2 separate regions of the Homo sapiens genome follow, and region 1 is linked to region 2. The links are contacts of gene promoters, found by promoter capture Hi-C in human tissues and cell types (Jung and others, 2019). All regions are on one chromosome and are shown on one strand. The core of a region is centred on a gene start or on the middle of the fragment in contact, and the rest is flanking DNA. Distances in the headings are between cores, read along the strand shown. Region 1 overlaps LOC105379364 (a long non-coding RNA gene). Region 2 holds the start of DUSP26 (dual specificity phosphatase 26).

Region 1 (6,533 bases), core at 2,942-5,441, 140 kb before region 2:
AAGACTTTTGGTTCACATTAGCACCCAAAACAAATATTTTGCTGTAGGCTTTATTAATAACACCGTCACCTCAGGGTTGGAGGTCTGCCCTTTATTCATCTGAGGAGGACTCTGACTTCTCCAGTGTATGTAATAGAATCCTTTTGCAGCTACAGCTCTGCCCCAGTGCTCTCTGTTAGAGGTGAAATGAGGAGAAACATGGGCAGAATCCAAGTTTTAGAGAAATATAAGATCACAGAAGTAACATTTTTAATTGCTCTTAGTGTGAAAAGAATGAAAAGATTTCCTAAAGCAGACATTTGACCACCCTATACCCACCATACTCACGTTTTCCTCATCTTTATCCATAAAACCATGCACAACAAACATGTGCACATATACTCACATGCACACACTCTACTGCCTCAATATTGTCGCTCTTGAAGATGCATATCTACCTTCTCAAAAATGTATGCATCAGGGTGGGGCTTGGTAGCTCATACCTGTAATCCCAGTGATTTGGGAAGCAGAGGTGGGACGATTGCTTGAGCCCTGGAGTTGGAGAGCAGCCTGGGCACCATAACAATACCCCAATCTCTACAAAAAGAAATTCTTTTTTAATTATCCACGTGTAGTGGCATGCCCCTGTAGTCCCAACTACTGGGGAGGCTGAAGCAGAAGGATCCCTTGAGCTCAGAAGGTTGAGGCTGCAATGAGCTATGATCTCACCACTGCAATGCAGCCTGGGCAACAGAGTAAGACCCTGTCTCAAAAAAAAAAAAAATTATGTATCAGATTCCATTGTGTATTTCAGAAAAATCCATATGAAAGGACAACCTCTGCTCCCTCATCCACTGTTGTTATTAGGTCAATGTGAGAATAAAGAGTGGACCTGGAAATAATAGGATAAAATAGCCCTGACCCAGCCAGTTTAACCATGAAACCTCTGCTCACTAGAATCTCTGCCAGGCAGATGATATAAGGATTTGTTAGTCAATGACAAAGAGGGCATCCACATGCACAGTTCTAATATGATCAACTGAACCCTAGCACTCCTATATCTGGAATAGGTAGTGAATGAGCTAAACTAGTGGAAATTTTTTAGAAAGAAAACTGAAATTCTGTACATAAAGGGTTCCAAGTATTTATCATTCATATTAGATCTTTTTCCAAGACTCCAAAGATAAAATAGCTTAGAGTCAAAGAGAGTATATTAAACTTCATGTTAGCCCGAGGCCCTCCTTCTTCCTTTGTTTATCATTTATTTATACCTGTCCTCATTTTGAAAAAGAATTTGTTGCTGAGTAGGAAAGTGTACACAGAACCAGCCAACCCTGTGTCACATGATGTTTGAGAGTAAATTATCTGCCTGTCTCTGGTTTTTTAAGCTAACTTTAGAGCACACTGCAGACCTTCACAGCAGTGAGCAAGACAGATTGGAAGTCTCATTTTTGCACCAATCTCTTCTTTAAATTCTTGGATCTGCAAGATCTTAGAGACTCCTTCTGCCAGGATTTGGTGCCTCTAATTCCCACAGGGTTTTATTCCTGAGTTTTCTTTCTCCTTTCAGCTCTCAGCATCTCATGATTCTTCAGCTACAAAGTTCCACTCAACTCTAACTCCACATATCCCAACTCCTAGCAGAGTACCTTGACGTGTGCTCCTTCTGAGCCAACTGTACTTGCCCAGGCCAAAACTGGGTGTGTTGGCATCAAAAAAAAGAAACTTCCAGGCTCAATTGGACACACCTCCAACATTCAACCACTCCCTCTCTCTTGGACTTTGACCCTGGTTCAGCTCTGTGCCCCTGCCACCAGCCACCCAAATCTCATGTCAAACTGTAATCCCCATGTGTTGGAGGAGGGGCCCGGTGAGAGGTGATTGAATCATGGGGGCAGACATCTCCCTTGCCGTTCTTGTGATAATGAGTGAGTTCTCATGAGATCTAGTTGTTTAAAAGTGTGTAGCACTTCCCCATCCTTCTCTCTCTCCTGCCACATGGTAAGATATGCCTACTTCCCCTTCACCTTCCACCATGATTGTAAGTTTCCTGAGACCTCCCCAGCCATGCTTCCCGTGCAGCCTGTAGAACTGTGAGTCCATTAAACCTTTTTTCTTTATAAATGACCCAGTCTCAGGTAGTTCTTCACAGCAATATGAAACGAACTAATACACTGACTTAGACTTTAGTTTCCTTTTCTGAAAAATGGGGATTACATCTACTCTGCCTACACCTGTGAGTTTGTTGTATTAATCAAATATAATGAAATGATGAATGTGAATGTACTTTAAAATCTTAAAATAAAAGATAGATGTAAATTAATAATTCCAAAACTTGGACTTTATTTTTGGAATTTTTAATTTGTAACATTGTATAATAGAAAAAAACTTCTCTGTCAGAAAAAAAAAATGTTTTGTCATTAATTTGCTGTGTGATTTTTTATAAGTTCTTTGACTTCTCTGAACTTCAGTGTCTTCAGCTGAGGCCTTAATTAGTACTCCTTTCTTTGAAAGTAACAGAAGTCCTCTTTAAATTGAGGAAAATAGGCCGGGCACAGTGGCTCACGTCTGTAATCCCAGCACTTTGGGAGGCTGAGGCATCACTGGAGGTCAGGAGTTCGAGACCAGTCTGGCCAACATGGTGAAACCCTCTCTCTACTAAAAATACAAATATTAGCCGGGAGTGGTGGCACAAATTTGTAATCCCAGCTACTTGGGAGGCTGAGGCAGGAGAATCACTGGAACCTGGAAGGCAGAGGCTGCAGTAAGCCAAGATTGCTCCACTGAACTCCAGCCGGGGCGATAGAGTGAGACTATGTCTCAAAATAAATAAATAAATCGAAGAAAATGAGGTGAGACGTAAGAGGACATCGGGCTATTTTACAGAACCCAAGGACAGGAAGTGCAGTCCAGCCTGATGAGCAAAGAGGACCTGGAAATACAATATCCTTAGGAACCCAGGCAACCTGATACTTCATATTCTTGAGACCTTGATACGGTGTGGAAGTTTGTCCCCTCCAAATCTCATGTTGAAATGTGGTCTCTAATGTTGGAAGTGGCGTCTGGGGGAGGTGTTTGGATCATGGGTACAGATCCCTCATCAGTGGCTTAGCACCATCTCCTTGGTGATGAGTGATTTCTCACTCTGAGTTCACACAAGATCTGATTGTTTAAAAGTGTGTGGGAACACCCCCTTCTCTCTCTTGCTCCTTCTTGCCAGGTGACATGCCTGCTCCCGCTTTGGCTTAGCCATGAGTAGAAGCTCCCTGGGGCCTCCCCAGAAGCCAAGCAGATGCGGTGCCATGCTTCCTGTACAGCCAGCAGAACTGTGAGCCAATTAAATCTCTTTCCTTTATAAATTACCCAGCCTCAGGTATTTCTTTATGGCAATGCCAGAACAGCCTAATGCAGACCTCATTGGTTATCATGTATGTGTCTTTTTATGAGCTAGATTTCTTAACATCTCCATGTATGTGGCATAAAATAGCTGTCACCATTCCAATTAATTGGAATCCATTTGTACTGTCCTGGGAAAGAACAGCTGACTGGCCCAACATGGGTCCAGGGTCTCAGCTGGAGAATAGTATCATAGCGAAACATGGCCTCTGGGGCCTGCCACTATGAACGAGAAGCAATTTTCACAGGCAAAGGGCATGGGTTTAACAAAAATCTGAAATGTGTTATAGTGAATACTAGGCCCCATCATACAACTCCCTGTTCAGAAATGAATGACTCATTTCCTCTGATTCTGTGGGTGCTCCCTACAGACAACCCTCAGCTGACATCACTCTCTGGCAATTGTCCTTGAAGAAAAAGAGCCACCTGACTTTGTCCAAGGTCACATCCCTTCCCAGAGACAGCACACCTCCAATGACTACCTGAAGCTTGGGCCCCTCTCCCACTCTGAGAGGAAAAGCAATCCCAACTCCAGTGATGGCTGCAATCTTTGTAGTAACGACACTGCAGCCAACTTCTTCCTCTATCAATGCCTGCTTCCTTCCCTTTCCCCACGGGTATTAAACCCTCAGACACTCCCTAATAAACCTCCCACCTTCCAGTCTCCATTTCAGGCCTGCTTCCTGGAGAATCCAGCCTGCAACATGTGTGCGTGGCATATGTGACTCAGAGATGCAATCTTAGGGTGATAACGCCTGTCACACAATGCATTCAACTCAAAGGTGTTCAATGAATATTAGTTTCTTTTCCTCCTGTCAGCTTGCCCAGAGGACAATTTCACAGAAAAGAAAGTCACTAAAGTCTCCGGGATCAGAGCCCTTTTCTGTATGACTCTCTGATTTAAGGCTAGAAATTACAATTACAGGATCAATTTCCTTCTATCAGATAGCAAGAGCCAAGCAGAGCATCAGCAGCTGGGCCAAAATGAGGGCACTCATTGCTATCTGATGGAATTCTTGAAGAGCCTAATTCCTGAAGCCAAAATGAGGCAAAGGAGACTTTGCCTGTCAGTAACATTGGGCCCTGCTCCTCCCGCCGTTTACATTATCCCACCAGGCCTCGAGAGCAGGGACCGACTGAGATCATCACACACAGTGTTTGGAAGGTTAATCAGCAAGAATGCATCAAATGCCCACTCTGTGCCAGACTCACATATTAGGTAGATAGATGAGGTTAGGCTTTATAAAAATGTAGGCACTCTGTGGCACCTGCCTGGGATCCCAACTATTCAGGAGGTTGGGGCAGGAGGATCACTAGAGCCCAGGAGTCCAAGGCTGCAGTGAGCTGTAATCACATCACTGCACTCCAGCCTGGGTGACAGAGTGAGACCAAGACTTTAAATGTATATATAATCAGCAAGATAAGACACAGTGAGGATAGATAAGTGTCCAAAATTGGAACAAACCACAAATAGAGGCATTTAGAAAAGGACAACATCTTGTCTTACTGAGGATATAAGGGAACGGTTCATGGAGAGATACCATCTGGGACTTGAAGAATAGAATGGATTAATGGATTTAGAGCTTTTGATAGCCAGAGAAGATAAAGAGGCATTGCTGAAACAGAGAGTTACGCCTATAGAAAGGGACAATGTCAGGGCCTCCAGGTTGTTCAATTCCATGTGCTGGAAACTCCTGGAGCACAATATAGAATAAGGGCCCTGGAGTGGTTCAGGCTGCAGCCCAGGACAAAGTATGTTTGAGGAAGAGTGAATGGTTTGAAGTGTTGCCGATTTAAATAGTCAGGTGGTCCTCAGGCTCTGACGGGAGGCTGGTGAGAAGAGATGCCTTAGGCCCCTAGACCTCACTTGGTTCTCATTTAGGAAGGACAGTGTAGCCTGGCACCAGAATTTGAGTTCTGCCATCCAGAACCAGATTAGGCCAGATCATTTTCTTTAAGCATTTCAGAAAGAAAATAAATAGAGAAAGTATAGTTGTCCTCTAGACCTTCAAGAATTCAAAGATCAAAGCCAGAGATGACTTGTTAAGAAGACTAGATAAATGCTTTGAGCAAAACAGTGGCCAAGCACTGAGCTAAGTGTTTTATATAACAAGATTAATATTTACGACAACCTATGAGGTAGCTGCTGAACTCTTACCTTTTACATACGGGAAAATCAAGGCACAGGAATGTCAGGTAAGCCTCCCATGATCAAAGAGCTAGTAAGAAATGGAGCCAGAGCTCAAACTTATATGGCCATCTCCAGGGTCTGTGCTGAAAGCCTCTTCATTTTATACCATTATTGTTCCACCTTCAAGGTGAGAGCACTGTAGCATAAGGCTTAAAATAAGGCCTTATATTATGTGTTGCCTTAACATCTGATGAAATTCTGTTTCTGAGATGAGGTCTCATTATGTTGCCCAGATTGGTCTTGAACTCCTGGACTTAAGCAATCCTCCCACTTCAGTGTCCCAAGTAGCTGAGATTACAAGCACACATAAAATTCTTGTATGGTAAAATTCTTGAATGGCCTAACTACAAGTTCCCCTCCCAATTATGCTCCTATGAATGAGACCCCCTGGTCCAACAATGCTCCTTATTATAGGAACCAGTCACAGTTCACGCCTATCCCAGACTAGCAAGTTTCTGTTCTCTGCAAGCCCACCAAATTCTTTAAACAAGCCAATCACTTCCTCTGGTAGGAACCAGCAGGCACCCCTCCCTCTTGATACTACAAAGCCCTCCTCCCTCCGCCCTCATTTGTTCACTCTGCTCTTGAGGGCAAGCACTGGGGCCCTGCCTGGCACAGTGTCCCTTCCCCAAGGCTATGATTATATGTGGCTGGTAAATTGCTGTCATTCCATTGCCCAGTCCTGGGTGTCATGTGCTGGGCCATCCTCCTGGGGACAGGAATTCCCCTCCACCCTCCACAACTGGATGAATAGGAGACTAAAGCAAGCCAAGCCAGAAATGAGAAGGAACATCAAGTGGAGAGTAGCCAATGAGATGCCGTAATGGAATGTGGGAAAAGAACAAGGGTGAAAACAAACAGAGAAGACCAAAATAATGACCACACATGACTTAGAAGAGAGACAGAGTGCATACAAGAAGTTCCATCAACTTTTTGAAGCAGGAATAAAGAAAAACATTCAAATGAG
Region 2 (6,634 bases), core at 3,055-5,554:
GCCCAGCCCATAATTAAATGGTAGCAGTTAGAATTGACCTTTAACATATGCCATATTTTGATGGTCATTCTTGTTTTTTCTTTTTTCCCACATTCTATTTTTGAACACCTCCCTGTCTGTATATTTATTTAATCATTTCTTTCAGAACTATTTTGAAATCTATTTTTGTCTTTTTTTTTTTTTTGAGTCACCCAGGCTGGAGTGCAGTGGCACAATCATGACTCACGGCAGCCTCAAACTCCTGGGCTCCAGCGATCTTCCCACCTCACCCTCCTGAGTAGCTAGGACTACAGGTGCTTGCCACCATGGCCAGCTAATTCTTTATTTTTTGTAGAGTCATGGTCTCACTATGTTCCCTAGGCTGGTCTCCAACTCCTGGCTTCATGAAATCCTCCCACCTCGGTCCGCCAAAGTGTTGGGATTACAGGCATACGAGCTGCAGTTCCTGGCCCTATCTTTATCTTTCCATAGCCTTATTTTTCCATCTCTAATCTCTTCATCCCAGCATAGTGTATCCATTCGTGCTTCTAGTACGGGCAATATGAATTTAAATAAGTGTATAAATAAGTGAAACAAATATAGCTCATAGGTCCTTTGATGGAAGTGTATATGAGCACAAAGAAGGAAACGGACAAATAAGAGTGGATCCAGGCTGGGCACAGTGGCTCATGCCTGTAATCCCAGCACTTTGGGAGGCCGAGGCAGGCAGATCACTTGAGGTCAGGAGTTTGAGACCAGCTTGGCCAAGATGGCGAAATCCTGTCTCTACTAAAAATACAAAATTTAGCCAGGCACGGTGGCACACTCTTATATCCCAGCTACTTGGGAGGCTGATGCAGGAGAACTGCTTGAATCCGAGAGGTGGAGGTTGCAGTGAGCTGAGACTGAGCCACTGCACTCCAGCCTGGGTGACAGAGCAAGACTTCATCTCAAAAAACAAACAAAAAAAAGAGTGGATCCAGGCCGGGCACGGTGGCTCACACCTATAATCCCAGCACTTTGGGAGGCTGAGGCAAGTAGATCATGAGGTCAGGAGCCCGAGACCAACCTGGCCAACTTGGTGAAACCCCGTCTCTACTAAAAATACAAAAAGTTAGCTGGGCATGGTGGTGCATGCCTATAATTCCAGCTACTCAGGAGGATGAGGCAGGAGAATTGCTTGAACCCAGGAGGCAGAGGTTGCAGTGAGCTGAGATCATGCCACTGCACTCCAGCCTGGGCAACAGAGCAAGACTTGGTCTCGAAAAAAAAAAAGAGTGAATCCAAAAAGGCTTTACAGAGGAAACGATTCTCCAGCCTAGTCTTGAAACACTGAAGTTTCAAATAAGATAGCCCTGGGTTTGAACCTGTGTCCTGCCACACACTAGATGTGGATGAGTTAACTAATCTGACCAAATGTCAGTCTCTCTCAGGTATTCAATCAGAATGATGACACCAATTTAATATATGGGTGAGATAAAATGAGCTGATTGGCAGGGCATGGTGGCTCTGGCCTATAATCCCAGCACTTTGGGAGGCTGAGGCGGGCAGACCACCTGAGGTCAGGAGCTTGAGACCAGCCTGGCCAACATGGTGAAACCTAATCTCTACAAAAAATACAAAAATTAGCCAGGTGTGGTGGCATGCACTTGTCATCCCAGCTACTCAGGAGGCGACACACAAGAATTGCTTGAACTGGGGAGGCAGCAGTTGCAGTGAGCCAAGATCACACCACTGCACTCCAGCCTAGGAGACAGAGCAAGACTCTGTCTTAAAAAAAAAAAAAAGAAAAAAAAATCGCCAGGCATTGTGGCATGCACCTGTATAGTCCCAGCTACTTAGGAGGCTGAGGCAAGAGGATCGTTTAAAAGAGGATGGTTTAAGCCCAGGAGGTTGAGGCTGCAGTGAGCTATGATTTTACCACTGCACTCCAGCCTGAGACCCTGCCTCAAAAAAAAATCAAAAAAACAAACAAAAAAACAAAACAAAACAAAACAAAAGAAATCAAGTGGGCTATAGATCGACTCATGAAAATGATCCTCACGGATATGTCAGTCCCCAGGTAATTTCTATAATTACCCATAAACAGCTGTACACATTGTCTGTGGTGTACTTTAAACTGTATTTTCCCCGCTTTTTGAAAAAAGTGTAATGCAGGGTTGAAACAGAGGTCTTGTCAAAGATTGAGATCAGCTTTACCTACAACATCCTCTCAACCTACCAATCTTGAAGACTTTTCACTTAAAATGACATTGATCTTCACCTGAGGTCGGGAGTTCGAGACCAGCTTGGCCAACATGGAGAAACCCTGTCTCTACTAAAAAATACCAAATTAGCCAGGCATGGTGGCACATGCCTGTAATCCCAGCTACTTGAGAGGCTGAGGCAGGAGAATCGCTTGAACCCGGGAGGTGGAGGTTGCGGTGAGCTGACATTGCACCATTGCACTCCAGCCTGGGCAAAAAGAGCAAAACTCCGTCTCAAACAAACAAACAAAAAAAAGATATTGATCTTGTAAGTGCTCTTTCACAATTCCTTTTATGATAATGTTTTAACTAGGTTTGCAAATTAAATCCAAATTTTAATTTGGATGCGCAAATTAAAATCTCAAATTTCTCAGGTCAATTCCTTGGGGTTTTTTGTTGTTTGTTTGATTGTTTATTTTCGCTTTTGTTTGTTTGTTGAGAGGGAGCCTCGCTCTGTCGCTCAGGCTGGAGTGCAGTGGCATGATCTCAGCTCATTACAACCTCCACCTTCCATGTTCAAGTGATTCTCCCACCTCAGCTTCCCAAGTAGCTGGGACTACAGGCGCCTGCCACCACACCCGGCTAATTTTTGTTTTTTAGTAGAGATGGGGTTTCACCATGTTGGCCAGGCTGGTCTCGAACTCCTGACCTCAGGTGATCTGCCCACCCTGGCCTCCCAAAGTGCTGGGATTACAGGTGTGAGCCACCATGCCCTGCCTCTTTGTTTTAAATGACAAGGATTTCATTTCATATTTAAACTGCTGTAACACAAGGGACAAGGAAAAGTGAAAAGAATTTTGTTTCTCTAGAGAAAAAAAAAGGCTAGGCGGTACATTAAACTTGGATGGCAGCCTGTCATGGAACCTGGGGATTGGTCACATTGGCCAGTACTTTCTCTAACCCAGAGATCAAAACCTGATCTGCCACCACTGCTGGGAATGGAGTCAGTCCTGGTTTCAGCTATAGCTGACACCATCAGCTTCAATCTGAGCCAATCTACTTTCTGCCTTTCTTCTAGTAGACAGCGAGAGTTCAAGCCAGCCTAGTTCTCAACAGCATCATCTGCTAACATTTATCATCTCCCCCACTTCCCTCTCACACAATAAGGTAGGCACTGGGGAAGGTAGCACAGTCCCTGCCTTCAAAGTGCTTACAATCTTGGTGCTTACAATAAAAATGCCGATCAAGTGAATATGTCACTAGAAGGCAGCACATGAGAAATTAATATGAAGATGGCCGGACACAGTGGCTCATGCCTGTAATCTGAGCACTTTGAGAGAAGGTGGGTGGATCACCTGAGGTCAGGAGTTCAAGACCAGCCTGGTCAACATGGTGAAACCCCATCTGTACTAAAAAACAAACAAACAAAGAAAAAATATATACAAAAAATTAGCCAGGCATGGAGGCGGGCGCCTGTAATCCCAGCTACTTGGGAAGCTGAGGCAGGAGAATGGCTTGAACCTGGGAGGCGGGTTACAATGAGCCAAGATTGCGCCACTGCACTCCAGCCTGGGCGACAGAGTGGGACTGCATCTCAAAAAAGAAAGAAAGAAATATGAAGATGAATGTTTTGAGAGTCTGGGGAAAGTGAAGTTCACTATGAGCTGAGCTGGTGGAAATGGCTTCCTGAATGAAGGAAATCCATGGTGCCTTCTCCATTTTGTGGGAGGCACTGGTTTAGAGAGTGGTTAAGGACATAAACTGCAAAGCCAGGCTGCATTGTTTGAACAAGCTCAGCTCTGCCAGTAACGAGCTGTGTGACCAGGGCAGAGTACCTAGCCTCTCTGTGCCTAGGTCGCCTCCTCCCTAAAATTAGGACAATAGTAATTATGTCTCCCTCATAGACTTGTGGGGAGTATAAAATGCCTTAAGCTAAATGAAGCACATGGCATATAATGAAGGCTAATGGGGGCTTCGGACCATTGTTCTTTATGACACGGTTTCTTGAGACCGAGGCATGTACAAGCCAGTGCACAGAATCGTGTCTATGTAATTAGTTAATTCTGTCTGGGAGGAGTGTGTGTGTTTAAGACAGTGCCTGGGATGACTTATAATGTAATCTTTAGGCAAAACGCTTTGTAATTGGTGCAGCTCTGAGAACACACGCATGCATTCCAGGCGGTGCTGCTGGGGCTCGGCGGGGCCGTGTCTGGTCTGCAAGGCGCGCGGGCTCGTGGGGGGTTGGCTGGGGAGCCCACGCTGCCTGGCGACTCGGGCCACCGAATGTGAGACCGAGTCCCTTTATGTCACCAGCGCACACGCTGATTTGAACCCTGCTTCGACGTGTGTGTCATGGCTTAAAAATAGCTGCTAATCTGTCAACCTGTCTTGGGCAGAAACAGCGGCGGCGACAGCAGCAGGAGCGTCATGGCCGTGGCGCTGTCTGCGCCGGCGATCCGCCTTTCGGACTGAGGCCCAGCGCAGCGCTTGCAAAGAGGTAGAGGGGCTGCGGCGGGCCTTCGCCTTTTCAGCTGGCTCTCCACGCTGGGGAGAGGCGCCCAGCTAGGGGCGACGGGGGAGGGAGGGGACCGGGAAGCGGGCACCCGAGCCCAGCGAGCCAGCCTCTCTCTCCCGGGCGCCCTCCCTCCGCGCGCGGGGCCCGGCTGCCAGGCTGGCGAGGACTGGGGCGACAGCCATGGACCTGTTACAAAGGCGACCGCAGGCGGAGGGAGGGAGCGGCGGGCCAGGGCCCCTGGAGCCGACGGATGGGATTGGAGAATGCCCAGGGCTGTATCCCTGGACAGAAAGGGGCTTCTGCATCCCCCGGGAAAAACAGCCCCACGGAGATCCTTCTTAGACCTGGGCTCCTTCACGCTTCCCCCATCCCATTCATCATCTCGTAGACAGCAGACTCTCTAAGAGGAAAGGTTGTATTGCAATACAGTAATGGGGTCTTTAGGCCTGGGTGCAAAGGTAGAAGAAGATGATGGTGATAGTGATGGTGGTGATGGTGGTAGTGATGATGGTGATGGTGGTGGTGATGATGGCTGTAGTGCTATATTTCTGTGCTCCTTCCGGACCCAGCCATTGAAAACTCTCTCTCCCTAAACTCCCTAACATCCAATCTTCCCTCACCAATCCTGGTCCTAAAACCCCTGCTTCTAATGCCTTGTAAGTGCTTGGTTTCTCTTGGCACTGGAGCAAGGGAGAGCTGGGCCCTGTCTAGGGGTGTGAGATGGGGACAGAGCATGGGCAGGGACAAAGATGGCCTCTCACTGCTGGTCATAGAGTTGAAGTCCCCCTGGCAGGAGGCCAGGAAGGGAGTGGAAGGGGATTCTGCAGGCTCCAGGACCTCCTGCTTTCAAACAGGCAGGACCACAGGTGTGAGAGGATGGGGAGGGAGGGGGAAGGGGCCTTGCCATTGTTGCCTCCCTGCCTGAAGGTCCCAGGGCAAGCCTCAAACGCTGGTCCTTCCCAGCTCTGCAGCTCAACAGGTAATCTGAGACACACCTGCTAAGCCCCTCGTTATTGACCTCGTGTTTTGTAGGGTCACTTGACTCCAACAGCCATACGGTTGGTAATTCTAAGCCTCTGAGCCCCTGGACCTGGCAGGATCCCTCATTTTTCCCTTTCCTTCCTGCTTTCTAGGCCCCCACCACCCACCCCTGTCCCCCCTCCCCTCAAGACACACACAGACAAAACACTCCAACCCTGCGTCAATTCCCCCACCATCCACCTCTGTCACCCTCCCCTCAAGACACACACAGACAAAACACTCCAACCCTGCTTAGATTCAGAAATTCTCACATTAGAGCTGAGATCTGATCAGTAATTTCCTAATGCTGATCCAAGGAGGGTGGTTTGCCTGTTGTGCACATAGATTGGTGCCTTCTTCCATAAGCTCATGCATTCAGCAAGTATTTATTTTTTGCAAACTTACTCTTCCTCTTTATTGCTATTCTCCACTCACCCCATCCCACCCCCACCACACCCTTCCCATAGCAGGTTTATCTCTGAGGCAGTGGCAGGTCACGAAGGGGTTAAAGTCTAACTCTGGCACAGAGATGGCAGGCCTGACATGTGTCATGGCCTCAGCTGCTGTTGTCTCCCTGCTAATTCTCTTTGGATGGGTCTAAAGGTACCCCCAACCCCATCCCAGCTCCCTAGGCTCTCTGCCGATAGCCCCAGGCAGATGAGACTCAGATTCCAGCTGGCAAGATCCCCAGCAGTGGGGACAACCACCCAAGTGCCGTGTGTGTGTGTGTGTGTGTGTGTGTGTATGCGTGCTGGCAGTGGGGGTGGGGTGATGAAGCTGAAACCTAGCAGCTGGGCAGCTCCCTCTCCCCGTAAACAAGGACATGTGACTCTCCCACCTCGTTTCGTGGCAGAGCCAAAGAGCTGAGCAAAAGGAGCTGCTGCAGCTTGAAGAAAAAGCCACCCCTGAAGGCTCCTGCCAGAGCCAGGCTTAC

The links. Contacts are between HindIII fragments. The study calls those that stand out against the background at their distance.
Region 1: a contact is called between a fragment that was not itself captured here and the fragment with the promoter of DUSP26 in region 2, in 2 of the 25 tissues and cell types used here (mesendoderm cells and thymus).

Annotation. Positions count from the first base shown.
Region 1 is chr8:33,736,816-33,743,348 of GRCh38, reverse strand. All of the region lies in intron 1 of LOC105379364 (a long non-coding RNA gene), which reads right to left. Among named protein-coding and RNA genes, the nearest start is that of DUSP26, 140 kb to the right of the region's middle. The HindIII fragment of the contact is 7,961 bases long and covers 211-6,533 here.
Region 2 is chr8:33,597,693-33,604,326 of GRCh38, reverse strand. DUSP26 (dual specificity phosphatase 26) reads left to right here and starts at 4,304. Exons shown (of 4, transcript NM_024025.3): 1 at 4,304-4,662. RefSeq lists an enhancer at 6,138-6,634. The HindIII fragment of the contact is 23,069 bases long and covers 1-6,634 here.